Regions from separate parts of the Homo sapiens genome. Here all the other regions are linked to region 1. The links are contacts of gene promoters, found by promoter capture Hi-C in blood cells and fetal thymus (Javierre and others, 2016). All regions are on one chromosome and are shown on one strand. Each heading gives the region's core, a stretch centred on a gene start or on the middle of the fragment in contact. The rest is flanking DNA. Distances are from core to core; before and after follow the strand shown. Region 1 holds the start of DDX10 (DEAD-box helicase 10). Region 2 overlaps CUL5 (cullin 5). Region 3 overlaps CUL5 (cullin 5). Region 4 has its middle 12 kb from the start of CUL5. Region 5 overlaps CUL5 (cullin 5). Region 6 overlaps CUL5 (cullin 5). Region 7 overlaps CUL5 (cullin 5).

The links. Contacts are between HindIII fragments. The CHiCAGO score rates a contact against its expected background, and 5 or more counts as called.
Region 2: a fragment that was not itself captured here is called in contact with the fragment with the promoter of DDX10 in region 1 in 4 of 17 cell types (non-activated CD4 T cells, naive CD8 T cells, total CD4 T cells and 1 more); the score reaches 8.4 in non-activated CD4 T cells.
Region 3: a contact is called between a fragment that was not itself captured here and the fragment with the promoter of DDX10 in region 1, in 9 of 17 cell types (naive CD8 T cells, naive CD4 T cells, total CD8 T cells and 6 more). The highest score is 10.1, in naive CD8 T cells.
Region 4: a fragment that was not itself captured here is called in contact with the fragment with the promoter of DDX10 in region 1 in 5 of 17 cell types (total CD4 T cells, total CD8 T cells, fetal thymus and 2 more); the score reaches 8.9 in total CD4 T cells.
Region 5: a fragment that was not itself captured here is called in contact with the fragment with the promoter of DDX10 in region 1 in 6 of 17 cell types (naive CD4 T cells, total CD4 T cells, naive CD8 T cells and 3 more); the score reaches 11.0 in naive CD4 T cells.
Region 6: a fragment that was not itself captured here is called in contact with the fragment with the promoter of DDX10 in region 1 in 5 of 17 cell types (total CD4 T cells, naive CD4 T cells, fetal thymus and 2 more); the score reaches 9.3 in total CD4 T cells.
Region 7: a fragment that was not itself captured here is called in contact with the fragment with the promoter of DDX10 in region 1 in 7 of 17 cell types (total CD4 T cells, naive CD4 T cells, erythroblasts and 4 more); the score reaches 11.1 in total CD4 T cells.

Annotation. Positions count from the first base shown.
Region 1 is chr11:108,662,746-108,666,833 of GRCh38, reverse strand. It overlaps DDX10 (DEAD-box helicase 10), which reads right to left and starts at 1,765. Exons shown (of 18, transcript NM_004398.4): 1 at 1,495-1,765. The coding sequence starts at 1,680. The HindIII fragment of the contact is 12,853 bases long and covers 1-4,088 here.
Region 2 is chr11:108,048,557-108,052,164 of GRCh38, reverse strand. CUL5 (cullin 5) reads right to left here. Exons shown (of 19, transcript NM_003478.6): 4 at 2,099-2,275. Among named protein-coding and RNA genes, the nearest start is that of CUL5, 41 kb to the right of the region's middle. The HindIII fragment of the contact is 4,378 bases long and covers 1-3,608 here.
Region 3 is chr11:108,025,156-108,028,900 of GRCh38, reverse strand. The region is part of intron 1 of CUL5 (cullin 5); the gene reads right to left. Among named protein-coding and RNA genes, the nearest start is that of CUL5, 18 kb to the right of the region's middle. RefSeq lists an enhancer at 2,881-2,980. The HindIII fragment of the contact is 2,762 bases long and covers 673-3,434 here.
Region 4 is chr11:107,995,030-107,999,040 of GRCh38, reverse strand. No RefSeq gene overlaps it. Among named protein-coding and RNA genes, the nearest start is that of CUL5, 12 kb to the left of the region's middle. The HindIII fragment of the contact is 1,607 bases long and covers 1,638-3,244 here.
Region 5 is chr11:108,089,324-108,093,069 of GRCh38, reverse strand. CUL5 (cullin 5) reads right to left here. Exons shown (of 19, transcript NM_003478.6): 13 at 3,447-3,578. Among named protein-coding and RNA genes, the nearest start is that of ACAT1, 30 kb to the left of the region's middle. The HindIII fragment of the contact is 5,776 bases long and covers 1-3,746 here.
Region 6 is chr11:108,065,204-108,069,213 of GRCh38, reverse strand. All of the region lies in intron 7 of CUL5 (cullin 5), which reads right to left. Among named protein-coding and RNA genes, the nearest start is that of ACAT1, 54 kb to the left of the region's middle. The HindIII fragment of the contact is 3,557 bases long and covers 1-3,356 here.
Region 7 is chr11:108,107,149-108,111,259 of GRCh38, reverse strand. CUL5 (cullin 5) reads right to left here. Exons shown (of 19, transcript NM_003478.6): 19 at 3,499-4,111. Among named protein-coding and RNA genes, the nearest start is that of ACAT1, 12 kb to the left of the region's middle. The HindIII fragment of the contact is 762 bases long and covers 987-1,748 here.

The DNA.
Region 1 (4,088 bases), core at 516-3,015:
AAAGTGACTTTTCAGATGTGATTAAATTAAAGATCTTGGGATGGGGTGATTATCCTGGATTATCTGTGTAGGCCCTAAACGCAATCGTAAGCGCCCTTATAACAGAGGAACAGAGATAGACTGACACAGGAGAAGGCAGAGACTGGAGTTATGCAGCCACAGGCCAAGGAATGCCAGCAGCCACCAGAAGCTACAAGAGGCAGGAAACAGATTCTCCCCTAGAACCTCTGGAGGGAGCAAGTCCCTGCTGACACCTTGATTTTGGCCCAGTGAAACTGATTTCAGACGTATGGCCTCCAGAACTGTGACAAGGTAAATCTCTGTTGTTGCTGGGCTTTTTTGTTTGTTTGTTTAAGACAGAGTCTCACTCATGTCACCCAGTCTGGAGTGCAATGGTGCGATCTGGGCTCACTGCAACCTCTGCCTCCCGGGTTCAAGCGATTCTCTTGCCTCAGCCTCCCGAGTAGCTGGGATTACAGGCACCCACCACTAGGCCCAGCTAATTTTTTTGTATTTTTAGTAGAGGCGGGGTTTCACCATGTTGGTCAGGCTGGTCTCGAACTCCTGACCTCAAGATCTCTGTTGTTTTAAGCCGCCAAGTTTGTGGTAATTTGTTACAATGGCAACCTTAGTTACAAGAATGTTCCATCTGTTAAATCCCTGATTGTACTGCACTAGAAGGGGGCTGAGAAGCTGAAAGATGTGGGTGAAGACCAACAAACATGGGATTTAGGGAAAGGGAAAAGAGGAATTGACAGACCTGTGGAGTCTGGAGGTTGGGGGAAGAAGTCAGGAGGTCAAAGTGATCATTACAGGTATACTCATCTGGGAACACCAGCTACAATGTGGGGATGATAGGTGACAGAAACAGACCAGCGGTCCAGCTTTTCTAGGCCAATTCTTGGATGGGGACATGAAGCCTGTGGAGAAAATGAGGTGGCCACAGGAAGGAGCATAGATGATGTTGAGGGATGCAGTCTGGCTTCATGGTTAAAAGCAAAGGCTTTGGGATTAGAAAGACATGGATCTAGCTTCCAATTCCACACCACCTACTAAGCGTGAAAGATTCGGACAAGTTTCATTCCTCTTAGAACCTCAATTATCTCATCTGTTAAATAGGATTATTAATATCCATACCTCAGATCAAGTCAAACAATTACTGTAAGCACATGGTGAGTGCTTAAAAATGTAGGTGTCATTATTACCACTATTGTCATCAGTATTATTAATATGAATATGACTGTAGCTATTACAGCATTAGTCTCCCTACCCTTAGGTACGGCCGCATTTCTATTATTTTTTTAGGAACAGTGTGGCAAGCAGAAGAGTGGCCAGAACGGTGCAGAGGTTTGAGCTGTGGCACCCGGCGTGACCTCTCATTCCCGGCCGGGTCCCGGTGACAGATCCGCCGCCTCCACTCTGCAACTCCTCGCCGCAGTGAGACGCTGCCCCGCTGCTGGCCGGCCCGAGCCCCCTCCCCAGCGCCGGCCTCACCTTTTCATAGTTCTGCATGAGGCGGCTGATACTCTCGCGCTCGACCTGCCATTCGGGTTTCTTCAGTTGCTTCCTCAACTGCTTCTTTTTGTTCTGCCTATGGCTGTGTTTTTTCTTCCAGCGATTGAAGCTCCGCACCGGGTCGGGTCGGGCTCCCGAACCCGGAGAGTTGGCCGTTTTGCCCATTGCGGCGGCGGCGGCGACAGCTCGGATCAACCCCAGACACGAGACACCTAAGGCCAGACTCACGGAACCAGCATGGGACAAACGCACAGAGGCGCATGCGCGAACTCAGAAGCCCGCCCCCGAGCTTTTGAAACCGGGGCACGCGCCAATGACGTCAGGAAAAGGAGGGCTGTGATTGGCGAATTGGCTCCTGCTGGGAGGGGCAGCCTGGGGAAACGGGGGCGCAGCACTCCACGGAAGGGGGCGAGCTGAGCCGAGCCGGGAGCACGCCGGCTCTTTAAAAAAAAACGCATGCGCACTGTTGTTGTTACTATGGTGACGTCATACACTGACCCTTTAAGGGCTATTAACACATTTGCTCCAGGTTCAACTTTGCTAAGCGTTCGTGAGTATGTGTGTAAACACATACAATCTGTGAATGAAAATTGTGACCCTCGTTTTGCACTTTTCGGGCCAACGAGCCAAAAGATTTGCCCAGAAGTAAACAGCTAGTTAGTGACTTCTGATTTCCATCCATGGTGGTTGTACTTCCTCAGGAATAAAAATGAATATTCTATATTCTTCTTATGCCCCTCTGGGTTTTCCTTTTCCTCTGGGCCCCTCAGACTCTAGCTGCAACAGCAAGGAAACTGGAACGGAATCAAATTGAATTTGCCTTAAAATGCTTTTATGGAGACAAAATGATAACTAAACGTAAGGAGGTAGGTAATAGAGGCCGGGCACGGTGGCTCACGCCTGTAATTCCAGCAATTTGGGAGGTCGAGGTGGGTGGATCACCTGAGGTCAGGAGGTCGAGACCAGCCTGGCCAATATGGTGATGCCCTGTCTCTGCTAAAAATACAAAAATTAGCCAGGCGTGGTGGTGCACACCTATAATCCTAGCTACTTGGGAGGCTGAGGCAGGAGAATCGCTTGAACCCCGGGGGCGGAGGTTATAGTGAGCCAAGATCGCCCCACTTCACCACAGCCTGGGTGAAAGAGTGAAACTCCGTCAAAAAAAAAAAAAAAAGGAGGTAATAGAAAAGTTATTGCAAGTTGGACATTTAAGTGAACTGGCTTTCAATGAATTGAATTTTTTGACACATTTACCTACAGCCTCCAGGAAAACACCGGATGTGGGTGGGAGAGCTTAGCTGTAGCAAAGGAGATTGGAAAATTGAGTTCAAAGTTCACAGGCAGAATTTTGGGCTCTCAAATTTCCTTTCCAACCCCACATATCCAGATCACTACTCTCAACTCTATGCCCATCCTCCAAACAAGACATGGCTTATTGGAAGGGAGTGAGGACAGGAGGTGAACAAGAGAATTTCCACACTCAGGAACACTAGATGTGGTAGACAGTAAAGCTCAATAAGGAGTGATTACATGAAAGTGTATATACATCCTCAAAAAATTAAAAATAGAACTCCACGTGAGCCAGCAATTTCACTTCTGGGTATGCATAGCCAAAATAATCGAAAGCAGGGTCTCAGATATTTGCATACCGTGTTCACCACAGCACTATAGCTAAAATGTGGAAGCAACCCAGGTGTCTATCAACTGATGAATGAGTAAACAAAACATAATATGTACCTAAAATGGAATATTATTCAGCCTTCATAAAGAAGGAATTTCTGACACATGCCACAACGTGGATAAACTTTAAGAATATTAAGCTAAGTGAAATAAGCCAGTCACAAAAGGACAAATACTATATATGGTTCTATTTATATGAGAAACTTAGAGTTGTCAAAATAATAGAGAAAGTAGACTTGTGGTTGCCAGGGACTCAGGCAACCAGGGGGTTACTGTTTAATCAGTGCAGAGTTCCAGTTTGGTAAGATGAAAAGAGTTCTGCAGATTGGTTGCACAACAATGAGAATGTAATTAATGCAACTGAATTGTATACTTACAAATGGCTAAAATGGTAAATTTTATGTGATGTGTATTTTACTACATATGTATACCACATATGCATACCTACAGAACGATAAGGCCCTCAGCTATAACTCACTTTTTTCCTAAAACTGTAGGAGTCAGGCATATATGCGCCCCAGGCAAGAAACTGGAAGGTTCAACTCTAGGAAAACTGAATGTCCAAGAGAAAGACCTCAATAACATCTAGGGGCCAGGCACGGTGGCTCATAGCTATAATCCCAGCACTTTCTGAGGCCAAGGTGGGAGGATTGCTTGAACCCGGAAGTTCGAGACCAGCCTGGGCAACATAGTGAGACCTTGCCTGTACCAAAATTCAAAAAAATTAGCCGAGCTTGGTTGCACACACCTGTAGTCCCAGAAACTAGGGGGCCAAGGCAGGAAGTTCACTTGAGCCTACAGAAGTCAAGGCTGCAGTAAGCCCTGATACTGCCACTGCACTCCAGGCTGGGTGACAGAGCCAGACTCTGTCTCAAAAAAAAAAAAACAAAAAC
Region 2 (3,608 bases), core at 347-2,846, 610 kb after region 1:
ACCCATCTCAACAACAACAAAAAATACAAAAATTTGCTAGGCATGCTGGCATGTGCCTGTAGTCCCAGCTACTTGGGAGGCTGAGGTGGGAGGATCACTTAAGTCCAGGAGGGCAAGGCTGCAGCAAGCCAAGATCACACTATTCCACTCTAGCCTGGGCAACACAGCAAGAGCCCATTTCAAACAAAACAAAAGTAAATAAAGAACAAGTGTTTCAGAATCCAACTGGATTTGAATCCCAGCTGTTACTTATTTATCTGCTTTCTTATGTATAAAATGGTCAAAATAATAGTGCAAATTTCAGTGGTTGTAAAAATTAACTATGATAATACATGGAAAATGTTTATTCTCCTATAGTTCCATGGTTGAATTTCAGATATATTGGTGTGTTTGAAATAGACATATGCATATGTTTGTAAAGACACATAAAAAATGTAAAAAGGACCAACTGAAAATCTGATACTGGACCTTATAAAAGGTCTGCAAATCTACTGTTTAGATGTTCCATTAAAATGATAAAAATGGTATATAAACATTGGTGATTATATCAGTACTCCAAGAAACTTGGTCAGATGTAGGAGATACATTAATGACAGCAACAATAACAACAAGAGTTAACAGTTTTATAACACTCATTCTATACCTGGGACTGCTCTATGTATTGTCTGCATGTAACTCATTTAATCCTCATAATCTTGATATAGGTACTATGATTATCCCCCCTTTAGATATGTGAAACCTGGGGTACAGATAGCAAAGCTAACTTTCCACATTTATGCACCTCATCAGTGGCAACACTGAGATTTGAATCCAAAAACTGTGGCCCCAGAATTGATACACTTAATCACTAAGTGGATGCTGCTTCCCACAACCAATAGAATGGCCAAAAAAAGAGGACAAGATTATGAGACTACAAATTAAATCGCAGCCAGAAGTGTTTTTCACTTTTTTTTTTCCCTTGGCACAAATTTCCCATATTGCAGTGATTTCTATCACTGAAGAACCACTGGGTATCTAAATTTACAGTATCCCTGTCAACATCAGATCAAATTTTAAGGCTGGGATGGGGCAACAATGCCCAGGTTACACTATTGTAATGCCTGAGTGTTTTACTGTAACCATCACAGTAAACAGTAAATTGACTAAAGTTCAAATGGCATTTTTTACTTTTCAAATCTACGGTCCCATTTTATTCTTACAAGTGGAAAGATATATGGAAAATGAGGACGGAGTTTGAAGAGCTGAAAGGGAAACCTAGGACCCTTCATATTCAGCACTGAGTTCTTTCCATTAAATCATGACTGGTTACTTGACACAATTTTTAAATAGAAAATAAGCACAGTATATACTGAATTTATAATAGAAGAGTTAAGTAAAAGGGAAATTATAAAGATAGCAGTTTAGCCACAATTAAACATAAAGATATCAGAAGGTAACCTAATAAAAGGGGATTTTTGAGACAGGGAGAAAAGTAATTTAATTTCTAGTAAGGGTATAGGTTGGGTGCAGTGGCTCACGCCTGTAATTCCAACAGTTTCGGAGGCTGAGGCAGGCAGATCACCTGAGGTCAGGAGTTCGAGACGAGCCTGGCCAACATGGTGAAACCTGGTCTCCACTAAAAATACAATAAAATAGCCGGGTGTGGTAGCACGTGCCTGTAGTCCCAGCTACTCAGGAGGCTGAGGCAGGAGAATTGCTTGAACACAGGAGGCGGAGGTTGCAGTGAGCAGACTGCGCCACTGCACACTCCAGCCTAGGCGACAGAGTGACACTCCAGTTTAAAAAAAAAAAAAGAGTACAAAGAAAGAATAGAGAAATAAAATACTGAATACCAGGAGAAGGAGAAAGTAAAAAGGAAAAGTAAAGGAGATAATGGTTGAAGATGCAGATCTATAGCTTAAGACCACATAAAAAGATGAAAGAAGATTGAAGCTAAAGACAAAAAAGAATATTATTCAATAAAATCTAGTTAAGAGCTGAAAAGCAATTGACATGTGAAGTAGAAAAACCCACTTAAAAGTTCAAATTACTTTCAAATGCTTCCAAATTACCCTCTTTCTGAAGAATATTAGGAAAACAAGGAGAAAAATAGTCTTACCTTTCGAACAATACTGTCTTCCACATTTGATTTTTTATTGCTGCCCTGTTTACCCATTAAAGTAATCTCTAGTTGACAAAAAGGTTTTGGTAAAATATCACATTGTGTAAAGAACTTTCGCCATTCAACAATATATGCTTTTAGCAAAGCCGTATCATCTTGATGGCTCAGTACTCGCTGAAAAAAAGAGGTGTACCAATTTGAAATAAATGCAGTTGCTTTGAAAAATTAAGAACATATTCATGCCAAAATTTAAATTGTACATAATTTTTAAATTATTGTACAAGCTCTTATATCCAAAAGAAATTAAAACATGTTCACAAAAAAACTTGTACACGAATGTTCACAGCAGCATTATTCAAAATAGATAAAAAATAGAAACAACCCAAATATCCATTAGCTGAAATACGGATAAACAATATATGGGCCAGGCGTGGTGGCTCATACAGTAGTCCCAGCACTTTGGGAGGCTGAGGCGGGAGGATTGCTTGAGCTCAGGAATTTGAGACCAACCTGGGCAACATAGCAAGACCTCATCTCCACAAATAATACAAAAAATTAGCTGGGTGTGTTGGTGCGTGCCTGTGGTCCCAGCTACTTAGGAGGTTGAGGTGGGAGGATTGCTTGAGCCCCAGCAGTTGAGGCTACAGTGAGCCATGATTGCACCACTGCACTCTGGCCTGGGCGACAGAGCAATACCCTGGCTTGAAAAAAAACTAAACAAATGAAAAAAGAAACCAAAAAACCCCACAATATATGGTATATCCAAACAATAGATATTATTCAGCCATAAAGAGAAACAAATATTGTGAAAGAAAACTAGTCACAAAAGGCCACATATTATGATTCCAATTACAGAAAATGTCAAATATAGACATATCCATAGGGACAACAGATTAGTGATTTAGTGGGTTGGGAGAAGGGAGTGACTGTTCATAGGTATAGGATTTCTTTTTAGGGTGATGAAAATATTCTGGGATTATTGGGTGATGGTTGCACAATTTTATGAAATATACTACAACCCACTGAATCATATCCTTTAAGAGAGTAAATTTTATGGTATATTAATTATATCTCAAGTTTTTAAAAGGTGGTGGAGTCACGGCAGGTGCGGTGGCTCATGCCTGTAATCCCAGCACTTTGGGAGGCTAAGGCGGGCAGATCACGAGGTCATGAGTTTGAGACCAGCTTGACCAACATGGTGAAACCCCATCTCTACTAAAAATACAAAAATTAGCCAGGCATGGTGGCATGCGCCTGTAATCTCAGCTGCTCGGGAGGCTGAGGCAGGAGAATCGCTTGAATCCAGGAGGCGGAGGTTGTAGTGAGCCGAGATCGCGCTACTGCACTGCAGCCTGGGCGACAAAGTGAGAATCCACCTCAAAAAAAAAAAAAAAAAAAAAAAAAAAAAAAAAAAAGGTGGTGGAGTCTATTTCCCCACTATTAGAGTTTGGGCTGGTCCTGTGATTTACTTTGACCAACAGAATGCCACCGATGTAACAGTGAAAGA
Region 3 (3,745 bases), core at 804-3,303, 640 kb after region 1:
ACTATAAGTGAGATGAAGAGCCATTAAAAGATTCTGAGCAAGAAGTGTCATAATCTTTTTTATTTTTTATTTTTTTTGAGATGGAGTCTTACTCTACTGCCCAGGCTGGAGTACAATGGGGCGATCTCGGCTCACTGCAACCTCTGCCTCCTGGGTTCAAGCAATTCTCCTGCCCTAGCTGGGATTACAGGTGTGCACCACCACGCTCAGCTAATTTTTGTATTTTAGTAGAGACGGGGTTTCACCATGTCGGCCAGGCTGGTCTCTAACTCGTGACCTTGTGATCCGCCCGCTTCGGCCTCCGAAAGTGCTGTGATTACAGGTGTGATCCACCGCACCTGGCCTGAAGTGTCATAATCTTATTTACATTTTAAAATCTCCCTCATTACTATGTTGAGAATATATTATAAGGGGCAAGGGTTAAAACTGGGTGTAGGATTAGGAAGCACTGATGGTGACTTGGACTGAGGTGATAGCAATGGAGGTAGGAGGTATGAGAAGTGGTTCAATTTTAGATGCCCAAAAGGTGGTACTAACAGGACTTCCTAACAGTAAGCATCTGAGATATGAGAAAATGGGAGTAAAGCATGACTTTAAGGCTTTTGTCCAGTAAGTGTGGCACTACCATCAACTAGAATAAAAGAAGATTTGACAGGCTTATTAAGGAAAGCTTGTGAGACTGGTTTTAGATGTATTACATTTAACATATCTATTATACATTCATATGAAAATGTTGAATAGGCAGTCCAATATGGAAATCTAGAATTTAAAAGGCCTATCAGAAAATAAAAACTTGAAGTCATCAGAATACAGATGGGTTTTAAAACCTGTTATTGGATGAGATCACTGTGAGAGAAGTGATACATAAAGATGGAGACCCAAGCCTGAGGTTTTAGATATCCAACATTAAGAGGCGGAGAGAGGAGTAAGAACTAGCAAAGGAGACAAAGAGAGCAACCAGAGCACAGGTGGCAAGAAAACCAAGAGTATGGTATTCTGGACAAAAAGTAAATAAAGTGTGTCAGAAAGACAGAATAATCAATTTTAAGAATTTCTCCTGACAGATCAGGTAAGATAACCACTGAAACAGCAATATGGAAGTTACTGAAACTTTGTCCACAGAAGTTTTTGCAGAGTAGTAAGGACAAATACCAGATTAGAGTGGAATGAAGAGTGGAATTAAGAGAAACGAGGAGCCAGGCGCAATAGTTCATGCTTGTAATCCCAACACTGGGAGGCTGAGGCGGGCGGGTCACTTGAGCCCAGGAGTTCGAGACCAGCCTGGGCAACATGGAAAAAGCCTGTCTCTACTAAAAATACAAAAAATTTGGCTGGGCACGGTGGCTCACACATGTAATCCCAGCACTTTGGGAGGCCGGGGTGGGTGGATGACTTGACATCAGGAGTTCGAGACCAGCCTGACCTACATGGTGAAACCCTGTCTCTACTGAAAATACAAAAATCAGCTGGGTGTGGTGGTAGGCCCCAGTAATCCCGGCTACTCAGGAGGCTGAGGTGGGAGAATTGCTTGAACCTGGGAGGCGGAGTTTGCAGTGAGCCAAGATTGTGCCACTGCACTCCAGCCTGGACAGCAGGGGGAGACTGTCTCAAAGAAAAAAAAAAAAAATTAGCTGGGCATGGTGGCGCCTATAATCCCAGCTACTAAGGCCTGGAGGCGGAGGTTGCAGTGAGCCATGATGGCGCCACTGCACTCCAGCCTAGGCGACAGCGACAGTGAGACCCTATCTCAAAAAACAAATAGTAAATAAAAACAAAAATAAATAAGAAGAAAACTAGAAAGAGTACAGACAACCCTTCACAATTTTTCCTGTATAAGAGAGTAAAGAAATGGCATGGTAATTGATAGGGTGAGAGGAAGTGAAAAAATAATAATTTTTTTTTTTTTTTTTTTGAGACGGAGTCTCACTCTGTCTTTCAGGCTGGAGTGCAGTGGCGTGATCTCTGCTCACTGCAACCTCCGCCTCCCAAGTTCAAGTGGTTTTCCTGCCTCAGCCTCCCGAGTAGCTGGGAATACAGGTGCCCGCCACCATGCCCAGCCAATTTTTCTATTTTTAGTAGAGATGGGGTTTCGCCACATTGGCCAGGGTGGTCTCGAACTCCTGACCTCGTGATCCGCCCACCTCAGCCTCCCAAAGTGCTGGGATTACAAACGTGAGCCACTGCGCCTGGCCAAATAATTTTTTAAAGCTAGGATACAGTATGATTGTATGCTGACAGGAACATTCCAGGATATGAAATGTTGATGATGTGGGGAAAGGGAGAGAAACTGCTAGTGAATTTAAATTGCACTGGATAGGCAAGAGGGAATGGGATCTAGCGCATATGTGGAGGAAGTGACTACAGGCTAAGAGGAGAAGGCAAAAGAATGTACATGTAGGTGCTGGTACAAGGATAGATGTCGTACGACTCTGAGAAGTTCATATTTTATTGCTTTAATTTCCCAGTGATGTGGAAATAACGACAATGTCTGAGAAGATCGGGGAGGAAATGTTAGAATGTTGACAGAAAAGATGTGAAAAATACATCTAGGAAAGTGGAAGAATAAGTGACTCTGGAAATGCAGTATGACTGGCCTCATTGTGGTCATGGATTTAAGGTGCAAATAGCACGGTTGTGTCTTTTTCTCGAGTGACATTCAGCTGCACAGGTACTGGCACTGAAAAGTGAAGAGACAGATTTAACCAGGGTTGTACACTTTTCCCAAGCAGAACAAGACAGGGGCAAGGAAGCAAAAAGTGTATTGAAGGGAACAACTATAATGATTGAGAAGAGAATTTATGTTGGGTAAGGCGGAGAAAATGGACTTCAAGGTGAAAAGAGAAAGAGACTTCTGCTTCCCATCATGACAGAATAACAGGAACCAGATTTTCCCTCCTGCCTAAACAAACTAGAAAACCAAAAGCAGTGCAGGACAGCGCTTCCTGAGAAAAGAAAAACAAATGAGGTGAGCGCTACAAATGTCCAAACATACTGCCTAGAGAGTGTCTCCAGGCCTCATCACAAGGAGGGGAAACCCAAACAGCCGCTAGGGGTTTCACTACATTTAAGAGGCAGAGTTCAGAGTTTGAAAAGGCTGAGGTGACTAGAATTTGTGGCATCAAGGGAGCTCTGGGTATCTATACAGAAGGTCCCTGAGGCCTGTGGCTGAGTACTAACCTGTACCTGGGTGTGAGAAAACTGTAAGAGACTGGGGAAAGAACCATTAGGAAGGAATGGGAATGGGCAGAACAATCAGCAGAGTGCACACAGGGCCAGAAACAGTTAGTGTTGCTACCAGCCAGAGTGGAAACACCCTTTAAAGTGCCAGGCATTGGGTAGAGTCCACAGAAAGTTATTGAGTCTATAGTGGAGCCAAAGTAGCCCTACCCCGAGTGATATTCTGGACACACTCTAACGAAACTTAAAGGTAAGCTTCAAAAGGATCAAACTGATTCCAAGTTACCTAACTGCATCACAGCCAAATCCAAAACTATTTAGAGAAAAATTTTAAAATCAAGCCCCTAAAACATATACTCACAATGTCTGACATCCAGTTAAAAACTACCAAGCATGCAAAGAAACAGGAAAATATAAACTATCACCAAGACAAAAAAAATCACCAAAAGAAGCTGACCCAGAAATGACACAGGTGTTACATTCAGTAAACAAGGACATTAAGTCAGCTACTATACATATTCTATATGACCAAAAAGGTATGGGATGGCATGAACATCATAGAAATATT
Region 4 (4,011 bases), core at 1,192-3,691, 670 kb after region 1:
AAATCAAAATACTGCAAGACTTCACAAGTCTAGGCAATGAGGTCACATCAACTTTTTTTTTTTTTTTTTTTTTTGAGATAGAGTCTTGGTCTGTTGCCCAGGCTGGAATGCAGCAGTGCAATCTTGGCTAACCGCAACCTCTGCCTCCAGGGTTCAAGTAATTCTCCTGCCTCAGCCTCCCTAGTAGCTGGGATTACAGGCGTGCGCCACCACGCCAAACTAATTTTTGTATTTTTAGTAGAGACAGCGTTCCACCATGTTGGCCTGGCTGGTCTCGAACTCCCGACCTCAAGTGATCCACCTACCTCGGACTCCTAAACTGCTGGGATTATAGGCATGAGCCACTGCTCCTGGCCCACATCGACATTAATACCTAAATTTTGCTGCTCCTTTTACTAGCCTCCACTTCCCCTATCACTTTTAAATTTTGTTTTATTTTGTTAGTCTCCAAGGCATGCTTCAAAATGCTCAGGATCAATTCTGCTTATGTTGTTCTGCTCCATTGAGCTCCATAATTTAGTCAGCTATCTAAAATATATTGGTGATTTCAAAAAATATAATTAGAAATGCTAATTATGAGCCAATTGAGAATATGCATAAGGGAACAAACAGGGCTTAAAATATTTACATTGTGGTAGTAAAGCTGTATTGTAGATTGCATCTTGAAAGGTCAAGTGGTTTTTTTTTTGTTTGTTTTTTTTTTTTGAGAGAGGGTCTAGCTTTGTTGCCCAGGCCAGAGTGCAGTTGGGGAGATCACAGCTCACCGCAACCTCAGCTTCCTGGGCTCAATCGTTCCTCCCACCTCAGCCTTCCTGAGCATCCTGGCTAATTTTTTGCTTTTTTTGTAGAGATGGGGTTTCACTGTGTGGCCCAGGCTTGTCTCAAACTCCTGGACTCAAGTTATCCACCACCTTGGCTTCCCAAAGTGCTGAGATTACAGGAGTGAGCCACCACACCAGGCCCCAGCTGGTCATTTTTCCCTCTCTTTTGTTTGAATAGAACTTGTGCATTCTGTCATAGGTGGACTGGCTGGAGAACCACAGACCTCCCTTCAATTCTTGAAACTTAGAAGGGACGATAGCCTGAATCTTCCCACTAGGTATACACAATCAACTCAGACTAGCAGGAACAGCCTGTTACATTCACCTCTAATATGAAATTAATTCTGCCAAATTAATCTGCATATTCAATAAAATTTCAATATAATACTTCAATCATTTTTTTAACAGAAACTTGACAAGACAATTGAAAATGTATTAGGGAGATAAAATGTGGAAGGACATACTAAGATATGGGCTTAAAAAAATGTTGAAGAAGGCCAGGCTTGATGGCTCATGCCTGTAATCCCAGCACTTTGGGAGGCCGAGGCAGGAGGATCACTTGAGACCATCCTGGGCAATGTGGTGAAACCCCATCTATACAAAAAAATACAAAAAAATTAGCCAAGCATGTTGGCGGGTGCCTGTGGTCCCAGCTACTTGGGGGGCTGAGGCCAGAGGATAGCTGGAGCCCAGGAGGTGGAGGTTGCTGTGAGCCAAGATCACACCTCTGCACTCCAGCCTGAGTGACAGAGCAAGACCCTGTTTCCAAAATAAATAAATAAATAATAAATTTAGTGACTTAAAACAATACAAGCTTATTCTCTTATAGTTCTGGAGGTCAGAAGGCTAAAATCAAGGTGTCAGCAGGACTGCACTCCTTCTAAAGGTTTCAGGAAAAATGTGTTCCTTGCCTTGTCCAGCCTCTAGAAGCTGCCCAAATTCCTTGGCTGGTGGCTCCTTTCTCCATCTTCAAAGCCAGCAGTGTAGCATCTTCTGTCTTTGATCTGCTCCCCTCTACTTCCATTTACACGTGGTCTTTTTTTTTTTTAACTTTAACCTTCGTGCCTTCCTCTTATAAGGACACTTGTGATTATATTGTGGCCATCTGGAAAAGGTTAAACTCCCCATCCCAAGATCCTTAACTTGATCACAACATCTGCAAAGTCTCTTTTGCTGTGTAAGGTAACATGTTCACAAATTCTGGAAATTAGGATGTGGTCATCTTTAGGGGGCCATTGTTTGTCTTCTACACATACCAGCAACTCATAGTCACTCTTATTTCATGTATACTCCAACCCACTTGTAATCAATAGCGTATCATTTCATTCATACACATTTTAGTATGTATTTCTAAAGGATAAGAGCTCTTTAGAAAAATAATACCATTATCACACCAAAAAGCTAACAATAATGTTTTAATATCACTGTTTAGTATTCCAATTTCCCTGACTGTCACATCATTCCTTTATTTTTTGGAGACAGGGTCGTGCTCGGTTGCCCAGGCTGGAGTGCAGTGGTGTGATCATAGCTCACTGCAGCCCCACTTTCCTAGGCTCAAGTGATCCACTTGCCTCAGCCTCCCAAGTAGCTAGGACTACAGGCACATTCCACCACTCCCAGCTAATTTTTGTATTTTTTGTGGAGATGGGGTCTCACTATGTTGCCCAGGCTCAACTCCTGGACTCAAGCAATGTTCCCACCTTGGTCTCCCAAAGTGCTGGGATTACAGGTGTGAGCCACCATGCCCAGCCACATAAATCTTTTCTGTGGTTGAATCAGGAACATATGATCAACACAATATAGGTGGTTGATATATCCCTTAAGTCTTTCTAATTCATAATCTTCTAAGATGGACACTGAGATACCCCACTCTGATCATCCCTCTGTGAAAGACTTATTGCCCCAGATTCTGGCAGTGCTGTTGACAGGCAACATTCAGCTAGCAGTTTCCTCAGGGATTGCCTCAGTGGCAGAGAGCCACGTTACCCAAGGCCACACCCTTTCTGTGTGATAAGAAAGCCAAACAGCCTTATTGCTGATATGGAGGAAGTTTTAGAGGTCTGGATACAAGATCCAAGCAACCACAACGTTCCCTTAAGCCAAAGCCTAATCCAGAGCAAGGCCCTAACACTCTTCGATTTTATGAAGGCTGAGAGGAAGCTGCAAAAAAAAAGTTTGAAGCTAGCATAGTTGGGATCATGAGGTGTAAGGAAAGAAGCTGTCGCCGTAACTTAAAAGTGCAGGGTGAAGTAGCAAATGCTTATGTAGAAGCTGCAGCAAGTTATCTAGAAGATCTAGCTAAGATGACTGATGAAGGTGACTGTGATAAACAATTTTCAATGTAGACAAAATAGCCTTCTTTTGGAAGAAGTTGCCATTTAGAACTTTCATAGCTAGAGAAGTCAATGCCTGGCTTCAAAGCTTCAAAGGACAGGCTGACTTTCCTGTTAGAAGCTAATGCTGCTGGTGATTTTAAGTTAAAGTCAGTACTTATTTACCATTCAGAAAATCCAAGGGCCCTTAAGAATTATGTTAAATTGGCTGGGTGCAATGGCTTACGCCTACAATCCCAGTACTTTGGCGAGGTTGCAGTGAGCCGAGATTGCAGAGATCGCATCACTGCACTCCAGCCTGGGTGACAGAGCAAGACTCCATCTCAAAAAAAAAAAAAAAAAAGAAAAGGATTATGTTAAATCTACTCTGCCTGTGCTCCAGAAATGGAACAATAAAGCCTAGACAAAGCACATATGTTTGTGGCATTGTTTACTGTTTTAAGCCCATTGTTGAGACCCACTGCTCAGAAAAAAAGATTTCTTTCAAAATGCTACAGTTCATCAAAAATGCTTCAAGAGCTCTGACAGAGATGAACAGAGATGAATGTTGTTTTCATGCCTGCTAGCTCACATCCATTCTGCAGCCCATGGATCAAGGAGTCATTTTGACTTTCAGGTCTTATTACTTAAGGAATACATTTCCTAAAGCTGTAACTGCCATAGCTGGCAATTCCTCTGTCAGATCTTGGCAGAATAAATCAAAAACCTTCTGGAAAGGATTCACCAGTCTAGATGACATTAAGGACATTTGTGATTCATGGCAGGAGGTCAAAATAGCAACATTAACAGGAGTTTGAAGGAAGTTGATTCCAGCCCTCATGGATGACTTTGAGGTGTTCAAGCCTTCAGTGGAGGAA
Region 5 (3,746 bases), core at 287-2,786, 570 kb after region 1:
CTGAGGCGGGTGGATCACCTGAGGTCAGGAGTTCAAGACCAGCCTGGCTAACATGGTGAAACCCATCTCTGCTAAAAATACAAAAATTAGCTGGGCATGGTGGCATGCGCCTGTAATCCCAGCTACTCAGGAGGCTGAGGCAGGAAAATCGCTTGAACCTGGGTGGCAGAAGTTGCAGTGAGCCAAGATCGCACCACTGCACTCCAGCCTGGGCAACAAAGTGAGACTCTGTCTCAAAAAAATATAAAAAATAAAAATAAAAATAAAATATACAGTGTAATGAAGTTTAGTATATCTACAGAACTGTGCAACCATCACCACTATCTAATTTTAGAACATTTTCATCACCCCAAAAAGAAACCCCATACTATTTACAGTCACTCGTCATTTCCCCTCCTGGCCCCAACTCCTGGAATTTGTGGATTTGCCTATTCTGGACACTTCACATTAGTGGAATCATACGATATGGTCTTTGGGATTGGCTTCTTTCACTCAGCATTATGTTTTCAAAGTTCACCTAATATTGCAGCATGTATTATTAGTTTATTCCTTTTTATCACAAAAAATATTCCATTGTATGGATAAATCACATTTTATTCATTAGCTCACTGACATTTTGGGTTGTTTCCACTTTTTGACTATTATTAGTAATCTTGCCATGAACATTTGTTTACAAGTTTTTACATGAAACATGTTTTCATTTCTCTTCAAATGAATTACCTAAGAGTGAAATTGCTGGGTCAGCTCTACGTTCAACATTTTAAGGAACTGCCCAACAGTTTTCCAAAGTGTCTGCACCATCTTATGTCTCCACTAGCAACTTACGAAGGTTCCAATTTCTCCTCTTCCTTACTAGCATTTGTTATCATCTGTCTTTATTTTAGCTACCCTAGTGGGAATAAAGTAGTATCTCTTTGTGTTTTTTTTGTTTTTGAGAAAGGGTCTCACTCTGTTGCCCAGGCTGCAGTGCAGTGGCACAATCTCAGCTCATTACAACTTTGAACTTCTGGGCTCAAGCAATCATCCCATCTCAGCCTCCTGAGTAGCTAGAACCACAGGCACACATCACCATGCCTAGCTGATTTCTGTATTTTTTGTAGACATGGAGTATTGTTATTTTGCCCAGGGTAGTTTCTAACTCCTGGCTTCATGCAATCCTCCCACCTCAGCCTTTCAAAATATTTGGGATAAGCAGGAGCCAACATGTTGAGCATTTCACTTGCATTTCACTAATGACTAATGATGTTGAGTATCTTTGCATGCACTTATTGGCCATCTGTCTATCTTCTGTGAAGAGATGTCAATTCGAATCCTTTGCCTGCTTTTAATTATTTGTCGTGTGTGTGTGTGTGTGTGTGTGTGTGTGTGTGTGTGAGTGAGAGAGACAGGATCTGACTCTGTTGCTCAGGCAGGAGTACAGTGGTAAGATCTCTGTTCAATGCAACCTCCACCTCACAGGCTCAGGCGATCCTCCCACCTCAGCCTCCCAAGCAGCTGGGACTAAGGTGCATGCCATCACACCCAGCTAATTTTTTAAATTTTTGTAGAGATGGGGTTTCACCACGTTGCCCAGGCTCATCTCAAACTCTGAGCACAAGCCATCTGCCCTCCTCAGCCTCCCAAAGTGCTGGGATTACAGGTGTGAGCCACCATGCCTAGCCTTGTTTGTCATTTTACTGTTGGGTCTTGATATTTTTTTTTTAACAAAGAAATAACATAGGCCGGGTGTGGTGGCTCACGCCTGTAATCTCAGTACTTTGGGAGGCCGAGGCAGGCGGATCACTTAAGACCAGGATTTCAAGACCAGCCTGGCCAACATGCAAAACCGTGTCTCTACTAAAAATACAAAAATTAGCCAGGCGTCATGGCACAAACCTGTAGTCCCAGCTACTTAGGAGGCTGAGACAGGAGAATTGCTTGAATCTGGGAGACAGAGGTTTCAGTGAGTCAAGATTGCACCACTGCAATCCAGCCTGGGTAACACAGCAAGACTACATCTCCAAAAAAAAGAAAAAAAGAAAGAAAGAAAGAAAATTTAATTCTAAAGGTTTCTCGTAGTAAATATGTATTAGTTTTGCTATTTTCCCCTTTTTCCTATATACTTATAAGTGACAGTAAGAGTTTTGAGTCTTTTGACAATAGTTTTAAAAAGTCACAGAATAATCATTCTTTTTCCTACTAAGCAGTTTCAGTTAGCACAGTAATTTTTACTATCCTAAAGTTCCATGCGAAGGGCTAGCTATAAGTTAAAATATCTGTAGGTCTCTCTCGTGTGTGCTTGCTCGCACTCTCTCTCTCTCCATATATATGTGGAGAGAGTTATATACATACACAGAAATTAAAGATATTTACTTTAATAATTAAAACAAAAAAAGAACTCAAAATACTTTATATGGGAATTTAGTTATAATCAGCATTGATTACCCTAAATAGGCCATCATTTAAAGGTTCTTTTTGCTATACAGAAGTATTTATTGTTATCATTTATAAACATCTCTAAAGTTAAGCATTTAGTACTGAAAATACCTTAAAGATATAATAATTTGTCCTGCAGTCTATTTATTTATTTTATTTTTCTTGAGATGGAGTCTTGCTCTGTCACCCAGGCTGGAGTTCAGTGGCTCGATTTCAGCTCACTGCAAGCTCCGCCCCCCAGGGTTCATGCCATTCTCCTGCCTCAGCCTCCCAAGTAGCTGGGACTACAGGCCCCCCACCACCACGCCTCGTTAATTTTTTTGTATTTTTAATAGAGACTGGGTTTCACTGTGTTAGCCAGGATGGTCTCGATCTCCTGACCTTGTGATCCACCTGCCTTGGCCTCCCAAAGTGCTGGGATTATAGGTGTGAGCCACCGTGCCCAGCCCCTGTAGTCTATTTATTAATAAGGTCAGTTTAAATGAGAGTTGAGGTACAAATGGGAGTGAAACAGTAGAAACAACTCAAGAACAAAGATACTTTACTGAAAGTATTAAGAACATTTATTAGATATCACTTTATTTTATATAATTGATGGTATATTCTTTTTTTTTTGAAATGGAGTCCCACTCTGTTACCCAGGCTGGAGTGCAATGGCACGATCTTGGCTCACTGCAACCTCCACCTCCTGGGTTCAAGTGATTCTCTTGCCTCAGCCTCCCAAGCAGCTGGAATTACCGGAGTGCACCAGCACATCCAGCTAATTTTTGTATTTTTAGTAGAGACGCGGTTTTGCCATGTTGGTCAGGCTAGTCTTGAACTCCTGACTTCAGGTGATCCACCTGCCTCGGCCTCCCAAAGTGCTGGGATTACAGGTATGAGCCAGTGCGCCCGGCCTAACTGACGCTATATTCTTATAAAATGTTTCCTACTTCTTTGACATTAACAATATCTCCAAAATGTATTACTTAAGCACACATATAAATGATGTAATGTATTAGAAAACCAAATATTTAAAAAAATTTACTTACTCTTAGCCACTCTACCATGTTTTCTTCAATTTCACTATCGGCAGAGATGTCTAATATAAGACGTCGTGTCAAATGAGCTTTATGATACCTCATAAAAACATCTTTGTTCTGTACATACTTAAGTACCAAGAGCTGTATGAAAAATAAAGTTACTTTCAGTTCTTATATACTCTTACCATCTCTCGAATTTAGACCTTTCTATATCCACCAATTGTCACAAGTCAGAAACTTTTATGAGCATATACAGATAGAGGCCTACTGAATTATCCATCTCTGAGAAATACCCAGTCCTGATACACT
Region 6 (4,010 bases), core at 329-2,828, 600 kb after region 1:
ACTATCATACCTCACTACAGCCTTGAACTCCTAGGCTCAAGTGATCCTCCTGCCTCAGCCTCTTGAGTAGCTAGGACTACAGGGATGTACTATCAAGTCTGGTTAATTTTTTAAACTTTTCTGTAGAGATGATGTCTTGCTATGTTCCCCAGGCTGGTCACAAACTCCTGGTCTCACATGATCCCCCTGTCAGTCTCCCAAAGTGTGGGATTACAGGTGTGAACCATCAGGCCTGGCCCCAAGGAAGTTTTAAACAGAGGATAAATGTAATGAGATTCTCCTCTCCTCAAGTCATTATTAAAGATCAGTATAATGGTAGTAAGGCAGGTGGTAAGGAGTGGGTGGTTGGGATATGGTAACGAGGCTGTTGAACTATTTCAGGTAAGATAGCAAGGGTCTAGTGCTCTAGGAGGCCATCAGGAAAATCTAAATGAGGCAGAAGATATCATGTCATCTCTGCTCCCTCGTGTCATGTAATTATTTACTTCTCTTTTGGGGATCAGATGAAATTAATAGGTTGTGAGGACTAAAGTTAAGTACAATAAGGCTGATATATTTCTTCTGAAAAACAAATCATCTATCTGTAAATTAAGGGAGGCAATTATGTGTCCCTTAAAAATTTTTTATTAAAAATTCCTTTGGAATTGACATAATGTTGGTAACTACTAAAGCTGAATTTAGGTAATGGGGATTCATTATACTGTTCTTCCTACATTGTAAAAATGCTTAAAATTTTCCGAATAAAGAATTTTCTGTGGTCCCTGCGAGTTGGGGGGCTGAGGTGGGAGGGTCAGTTAAGCTCAGGAGGTCAAGGCTGCAGTAAGCCTTGATCATGTCACTGCAGTGTAGTCTGGGCGACAGAGCAAGACTGTCACAAAACAAAACAAAACAAAACAAAAAAAAAGGTTTTTTCAGGCTCCTCTACAAGAATGATGCTGATGACTTTTAAATGCATATATCCATGTATATTTCTGTCCTAAGAAAATAATACACATGGCTGGGCGTGGTGGCTCATAGCCTATAATCCCAGCACTTTGGGAGGCTAAGGCGGGCGGATCACCTGAGGTCAGGAGTTCAAGACCAGCCTGACCAACACAGAGAAACCCCATCTCTACTAAAAATTAGCCGGGCATGGTGGGTGCCTGTAATCCCAGCTACTCGGGAGGCTGAGGCAGGAGAATTGCTTAAACCTGGGAGGCAGAGATTGCAGTGAGCCGAGATCGTGCCATTGCACTCCAGCCTGGGCAACAAGAGCAAAACTCCGTCTCAAAAAAGGAAAAAAAAAAGAAAAATAAAGAAAAGACTACACATATAAAATGGTTAAGAAACTCTTTCCTTGCAAGGTGGAAATCTCTGCCCCAACTGCTGAGTAATCTTATTCTATAACATCACTGGAATAGGCCCAACTAAACACTTCCACCTTAAGCAGTGAAACCAGATTGAGCATAGGTAAATCTAACAATATATAACTAATAGAGAACAAAGACAAAGTGGAATCCTAATAAACTCTAAGCTCTGTGTTTTCTATTTCATTGAAAACTTTCACTTGAACATTATCCTGTTCAGTGGTAGTTGAAATTTTGCAGATTCTAAAAATCCAGACCAGTGTGTTTCAGACTGTATGTTGTGAAATCAGTTTTAATGGCTGTGACCAGGTTTAAAAAAAAAAAAAATGTACATAGGACAGAACAAAAAATATCAGAGTGTATCACATATTGTAACAATGAATATTATTTCATAAGACTTTTGTTTCAGATATGTACAAATAAACAGTATATTCTAAGCCACAATATAAAATGTATTTCTTATGGTGGGTTACAACGAGGATTAAAAGGAGAGCTAAATTGACAACATAATTAAAGTAAACTGAGAAGAATTTGGTAAATGCTTAAATGAAAGGGATTAGGGAAATAAAAGGATGTTGAATCCATTTCTAGCTTGAGAGGTTAAACAAATTATTATAACAGGTATCCTTTAATGGGCACTTACTTTGTACCAGGCATTATGCTAAATGCTTTACATATAGATCTCATTTAACCCACATGGCAACCTCATGAGGCAGATACTTACTTTATGAGGACATAGACTGAGAGTAGCCACATAACTTCCAAATGTTGCACAGTTGGTTCATAAGGTCTTGAGTTATAATTTGAGGCCAGGTATGTATCTCCATAGCCTCCAACTTTTCTTACTACAGAAGTAGAGCATGTACATACTTAGTGATGGCTACATGCTCAGAACTGAGTTACGTGTTTTAAGGAATAGAGAAGTATAAACATGGTTCATGCCCTCAATGATCTTACAATCCAGTTGGAAACCCATAAACTATATACCTAAAAACATGTGTATGGTTCATATGTACAGATGTGTATGAAAAGAAGATCTTCACTAATAAGCAAATAACTGGAAAATGCATCATTACTATACTATAAACTTAAGGACAAAGATTGTGCTCTGTCCACAGCTATAAAGACTGTGCTGTGTCCTGGCACACAGCTGGTGCTTGATAAGAAATACAAGGCAGTCTATAATTTGCTCCTAAACCTAGTGGTAGAAACAATAGTTACCACGGGAATTCAAATAGGAAGAAACTGATGAAGGCTAGATGATCTGAGCTACTTTATTACAATTTTATTACAAGGTGAGTTAAAAGAATCCTTGCAAGATTTTGGGTAGGCAGAAGAAAACACTGCTAAAATGAATCCAAAAAAAAAAGTAACAGAGTGAGTTGTATGAATAAAAAAATATTTCTTATTGGAGTAGAGTGACTCTTGCTGGACAATATTAAGTTAGAAAAATAGGTTAGGGTCAAATTATGAAGGGTCTTAAAAATCAGGGGTATGAAATAATGATACTCTGGTTTTTTTTTTGAGACAGAGTCTCGCTCTGTCGCCCAGGCTGGAGTGCAGTGGCGTGATCTTGGCTCACTGCAAGCTCTGCCTCCTGGGTTCACACCATTTCTCCCGCCTCAGCCTCCTGAGTACTGGGACAGCAGGCATCCACCACCACGCCTGGCTAAGTTTGTTTTTGTATTTTTAGTAGAAACAGGGTTTCACCGTGTTAGCCAGGATGGTCTTGATCTCCTGACCTTGTGATCTGCCTGCCTCAGCCTCCCAAAGTGCTGGGATTAGAGGCGTGAGCCACCACGGCCAGCCAGTACTCTAGTTTTTGAATAGAAAAGTAAAACAATAAAAGTGATGTTTATGAAAGATTATCCTGAATTCACAAAAGAATAAATACAAATGGTCAGGAATAAGAATAAATATGCAGACCAGGCTGGACAACATAGTGAGACCCTGTTTCTAAAAAAAATAATAAAAAATAGAGGAGTGGAGCAAGATGGCCAAATAGAAGCTTCCACCGATCATTCCTCCTGCAGGAACACCAAATTTAACAACTATCTACACACAAAAAAACACCTTCATAAGAACCAAAAATCAGGTGGGCACTCATAGTACCTGGTTTTAACTTCATGTCACTGCAAGAGGCACTGAAGAGGGTAGGAAAGATAGTCTTGAATCGCCAATGTTACCCCTCCCTCATCCCCCAGCAGCAGCTGTATGGCATGGAGAATCTGTGTGCTTGGGAGAGGGAGAGAGCAGCAACTGTGAGATACTGCATTGAACTCACCACCACCCTTTCACAGCAGAAAGCAAAAGTAGGATGAACTCAGCTGACACATGCCCATGGAGGGAGCATTTAGACCAGCCCTAGACAGAGGGGAATCGCCCATTCCAGTGGTAAGGACTTGAGTTCTAGCAAGCCTCGCACTATAAGCTAAAGTACTCTGGGGCTCCAAATAAACTTGAAAGGCAGTCTAGGCCACAAGGACTGTAACTTCTAGGCAAGCAATAACAAATAATGAGATAGAAGCCATAATAAAATTTCTCCCAACAGGTGCAGTGGCTCATGCCTGTAATCCCAGCACTTTGCCAGGCAGAGGTGGGCAGATCATGAGGTCAGGAGAGAGACCATCCTGGCTAACATGGTGAAACCCCATCTCTACTAAA
Region 7 (4,111 bases), core at 118-2,617, 560 kb after region 1:
GCTCAAGAACTTACACTTCCAACAAGTGACAATGCTGCCGGTCTGTGGACCAAAATGGAGAGCCACTGGAGTAGGCGAAGAAAAAAATATCCAAAAGAAGAATGTTTGAAACATTTATGCGATGGAGATATTTAAAAGGCAAAACACAGAGGGAAGGAGAGGATGGAATTCAGAAAAAGATAAAATAGTTGGTCTTGAGCAACAAGTGAGGTGATCTCTTCCTCTGAGACAGGCAGGCAGATGAAGATGTACATGATTAGAGGTAAAGTTTACAGGTGGAGAAAAGGCAAGTTAAGAGTTCATGCCTGAAGGCCTTATTTTCTCTGTTTATTTTTTCAAAGCAATATCATCTACTGAGAATTTAGGAGATAAGGTAGAGTAGGGGTAAATATTAATAATTATACATTTAGCAGCCATGGGAAAACAACATGTTAAAGTATTCCCAAGTTCCACTTATTTTTAAGACAGAGTCTCACTCTGTTCCCTAGACTGGAGTGCAGTGGCACAATCACAGCTCACTGCAGCCTCAGCCTCCTGAGTAGCTGGGACTACAGGTTTGTGCAACCAACCACCGCTGGCTAATTTTTACATTTTTGTGGAGATGGGGGCCTCACTATGCTGCCCAGGCTGGTCTTGAACCTGGCTTCAAGTGATCCTCCTGCTTCAGTCTCCTAAAGTGCTGGGATTAGAGGTGTGAGCCACACCTCGACCATCAACCACTGCTGAAGAAAAATCTAAACAGTATCAGTCTGGCTCAGTAATTACAGCATAATAAAGGAAAAAAGGAAATACTCTATTTCCTTTATTATTAAGTAAAATAGGAAGAAGCCATTAACACTCAGAGAAGTCTTCTGTTATTCTCTAGATAAGTAGAGCAAATCAAAGTTTGGATCAGCGCTCCTGAAGTTAGGCCATGACCAATCCACAAAGCAAGCTGTTACTCATTTTACGCACTCCAGGACATCACTATTAAAGATTTCTAAGCTTGGGTGTGTTAACTCTTAACATTTATATATGCACTTGTTTATATTTTTATATGCATGTATTTTGCTTTAATCAGATGTTCACAAAAGTCTAGAACTCAACTCTCACCATCAATTGTTAATCTAAATTGTCACCCTGCTCTGGGTTGTACACTGTCAAAACAGGAGTTCCGTGATATAAAAAGTCCATATTCTATTGTATAGCCCAGAATGGGGAATGGGAAATAAAGTCTCCACACTTAAAATGTAAAATATTGGCCGAGTGCGGTGGCTCATGCCTGTAATCCCAGCACTCCTGGATGCCAAGGGAGGAGGACTGCTCGAACTCAGGAGTTCGAAACCAGCCTGGGCAACATAGTGAGACCTCCTCTCCGCAAATAAAAAAAAAATTACCTAGGCAAATAAAAAAAAAATTACCTAGGTGGTGTGTGCCTGTGGTCCCAGCTACTCAGGAGGCTAAAGTGGGAGGATCACTGGAGCCCAGGAGTTCAAGGCTGCAATGATCTGCAATTGTGCCACTGCACTCCAGCCTAGGTGACAGAAACTCTATCTCAAAAAAAAAAAAAAAAAAAAAAAAAGAACTAAAACATTGAACTATATTCTCAGGCACATGTGCTATCATTCATTCAGTCCTACTATGTGCCCTTTTTACACTGAGGTTTAACAGGGCTGAATCCAACTTGATATTTTGAGGACCCTCTTTAAGAAAATACAAAACTTGTAGGGCTCCCCCTCCCAGAGCCTTGTACAAGGGGCCCAAAAGCTTAAGCTTATTTCTTGGTTTAAATGAAATCTGTTTCTTGGTTCAGATGAAATTTTATACTGAGAAAATACCTTCTCTAGCTTCATTTCCAAGTCAACTCCTCCCCCAACCCCAAACTCCCAAATGCCAGTTTAAGTCCAAGGTTGAGTTTAGAGTCGTTATGAAGTCAAATGTGTTCCTCCATCCAGTTGTCCAAAACATTTATTGACTACTACAGTAGGAACAAGAAATGATCCCTCAATGTAAAGGAGCTCTATAACATTTATTTATGAATCAATGAATGAATTAGTCTGGCCCTGTTGCCCAGGCTGGAGCGCAGTGGTGCGATCTCAGCTTGCTACAACCTCCACCTCCCAGGCTCAAGTGATTCTCATGCCTCAGCCTCCTGAGTAGCTGGGATTACAGGTATGTATTTTTAGTAGAGATGGGGTATTGCCATGTTGGCCAGGCTGTTCTTGAACTCCTGACCTCAAGTGATCTGCCCACCTCACCTTCTCAAAGTGCTGGGATTACAGGTGTGAGCCACTGCGCCCAGCCTGAAATTTCTTTTAAATTTAGTTCCTCTGGGTAATTAAGTCCCTGTATGCAATTCAAGTTTCTTATAGTCAAGAGTTTTTTCGATTATTAAATTGTTCACTTGATCAGTAACTAATTGCTATTATCTGTCCAGTTTCACAACCTTATTGCCAAACTATTTCTAGCTTAAAAATAAGTATTTCAGGCCAGACGCGATGGCTCACACCTGTAATCCCAGCACTTTGGGAGGCCGAGGCAGCTAGATCACGAGGTCAGGAGATTGAGACCATCCTGGCTAACATGGTGAAACCCTGTCTCCACTAAAACTGCAAAAAATTAGCCAGGTGTGGTGGCAGGCGCCTGTAGTCCCAGCTACTCGGGAGGCTGACGCAGGAGAATGGCATGAACCCAGGAGATGGAGCTTACAGCGAGCCGAGATCGCGCCACTGCACTCCAGCCTGGGTGACAAAGTGAGACTCTGTCTCAAAAAATAAAAATAAAAACAAAAATAAGTATTTCACAAATTTTCAAATATATCCAAAATGTGAAATGATTATGTTTTACATTTTTTACTTTTTTTTTTTTTTTTTTTTTTTTTTTGAGACAGTCTCATTCTGTCGCCCAGGCTGGAGTGCAGTGGCACAATCTTGGTTCACTGCAACCTCCGCCTCCCGGGTTCAAGCGATTCTCCTGCCTTAGCCTTCCGAGTAGCTGGGACTACAGGCGCGCGCTACTACACCCGGCTAATTTTTATATTTTTAGTAGAGACAGGGTTTCACCATGTTTGCCAGGCTGGTCTTGAACTCCTGTCCTCAGGTGATCCACCCACCTTGGCCTCCCAAAGTGCTGGGATTACAGGCGTGAGCCACTGAGCCCGGCCCATTTTTTACTTTTATCTGCTATAAAATTTGAATTTTGTTATGACATAGCCTATCTTAGTTGATGAATATATTAACCACTTTCAGGTTGGAATTTTTTTTTTTTTATTACCTCTTCCAGGCATATAGCCACATGCTATCATCAGTGGAAAAGCTACATTCCTGACTGCTCTCATTTTGAATTAGAATTTGAAGTCTAATATAAATAAGTGGGTTACTTTTCATATTTCTGATTCCTAAGGCTGGCTGAGATTAATTTACCTTCAAATTTAAAAATATACCTACTATAAAAATTTTAATTAAACTCTTTGTAACTATTTTATAGTAGAACATCAACATTTTCTGGATAGGTAAAAGCTTTTATATTACATTTTTATTTTGCAAGAAAATAAATTATACAACTTAAAAAATAAAATCCAAAAATTAAGCAGTTCATCAAAATATTTCAGCCTACTGCATACAGAAACTGCTACCACTTAAAATTGTACAGCATTATCATCTCAGTATGTAGTGGCACACATTCAAAATCGTATAGACCATATGAGGATAGATTACAACTTAGAAACTAAAATAAATTTGTTCAACACTCCAGACAACATATAGTGTAGATGACAGGAAAGCTCTCATGTAATGTTTATTTCACAAACATGACCTTGGAAGAATTCATAAGACAGCATCCCAGTCACTTACATGAGAACAGAAAAACCAGCTTGAGTTTAAGATAGCAAATCTTTCTGTAAAACTAGCAAATCTTTCACCCAGACTGAAGTTTTAAAATTTGCCCTTTGAGCAGTGCTAGAGACATCTTACTGCAAATAATGCAAAATACTTTTTAACTACTCAGGTCATATTTTCTATTAAATTTAATAAAAAGTAAAAGAAAGAAAGCTAACATTTCATTTTTGGAAGGTTTAACATTTATGCACAAAATAAGAGCAAGAGACTTAAATAAAAAAGTTGACAGAACTCAG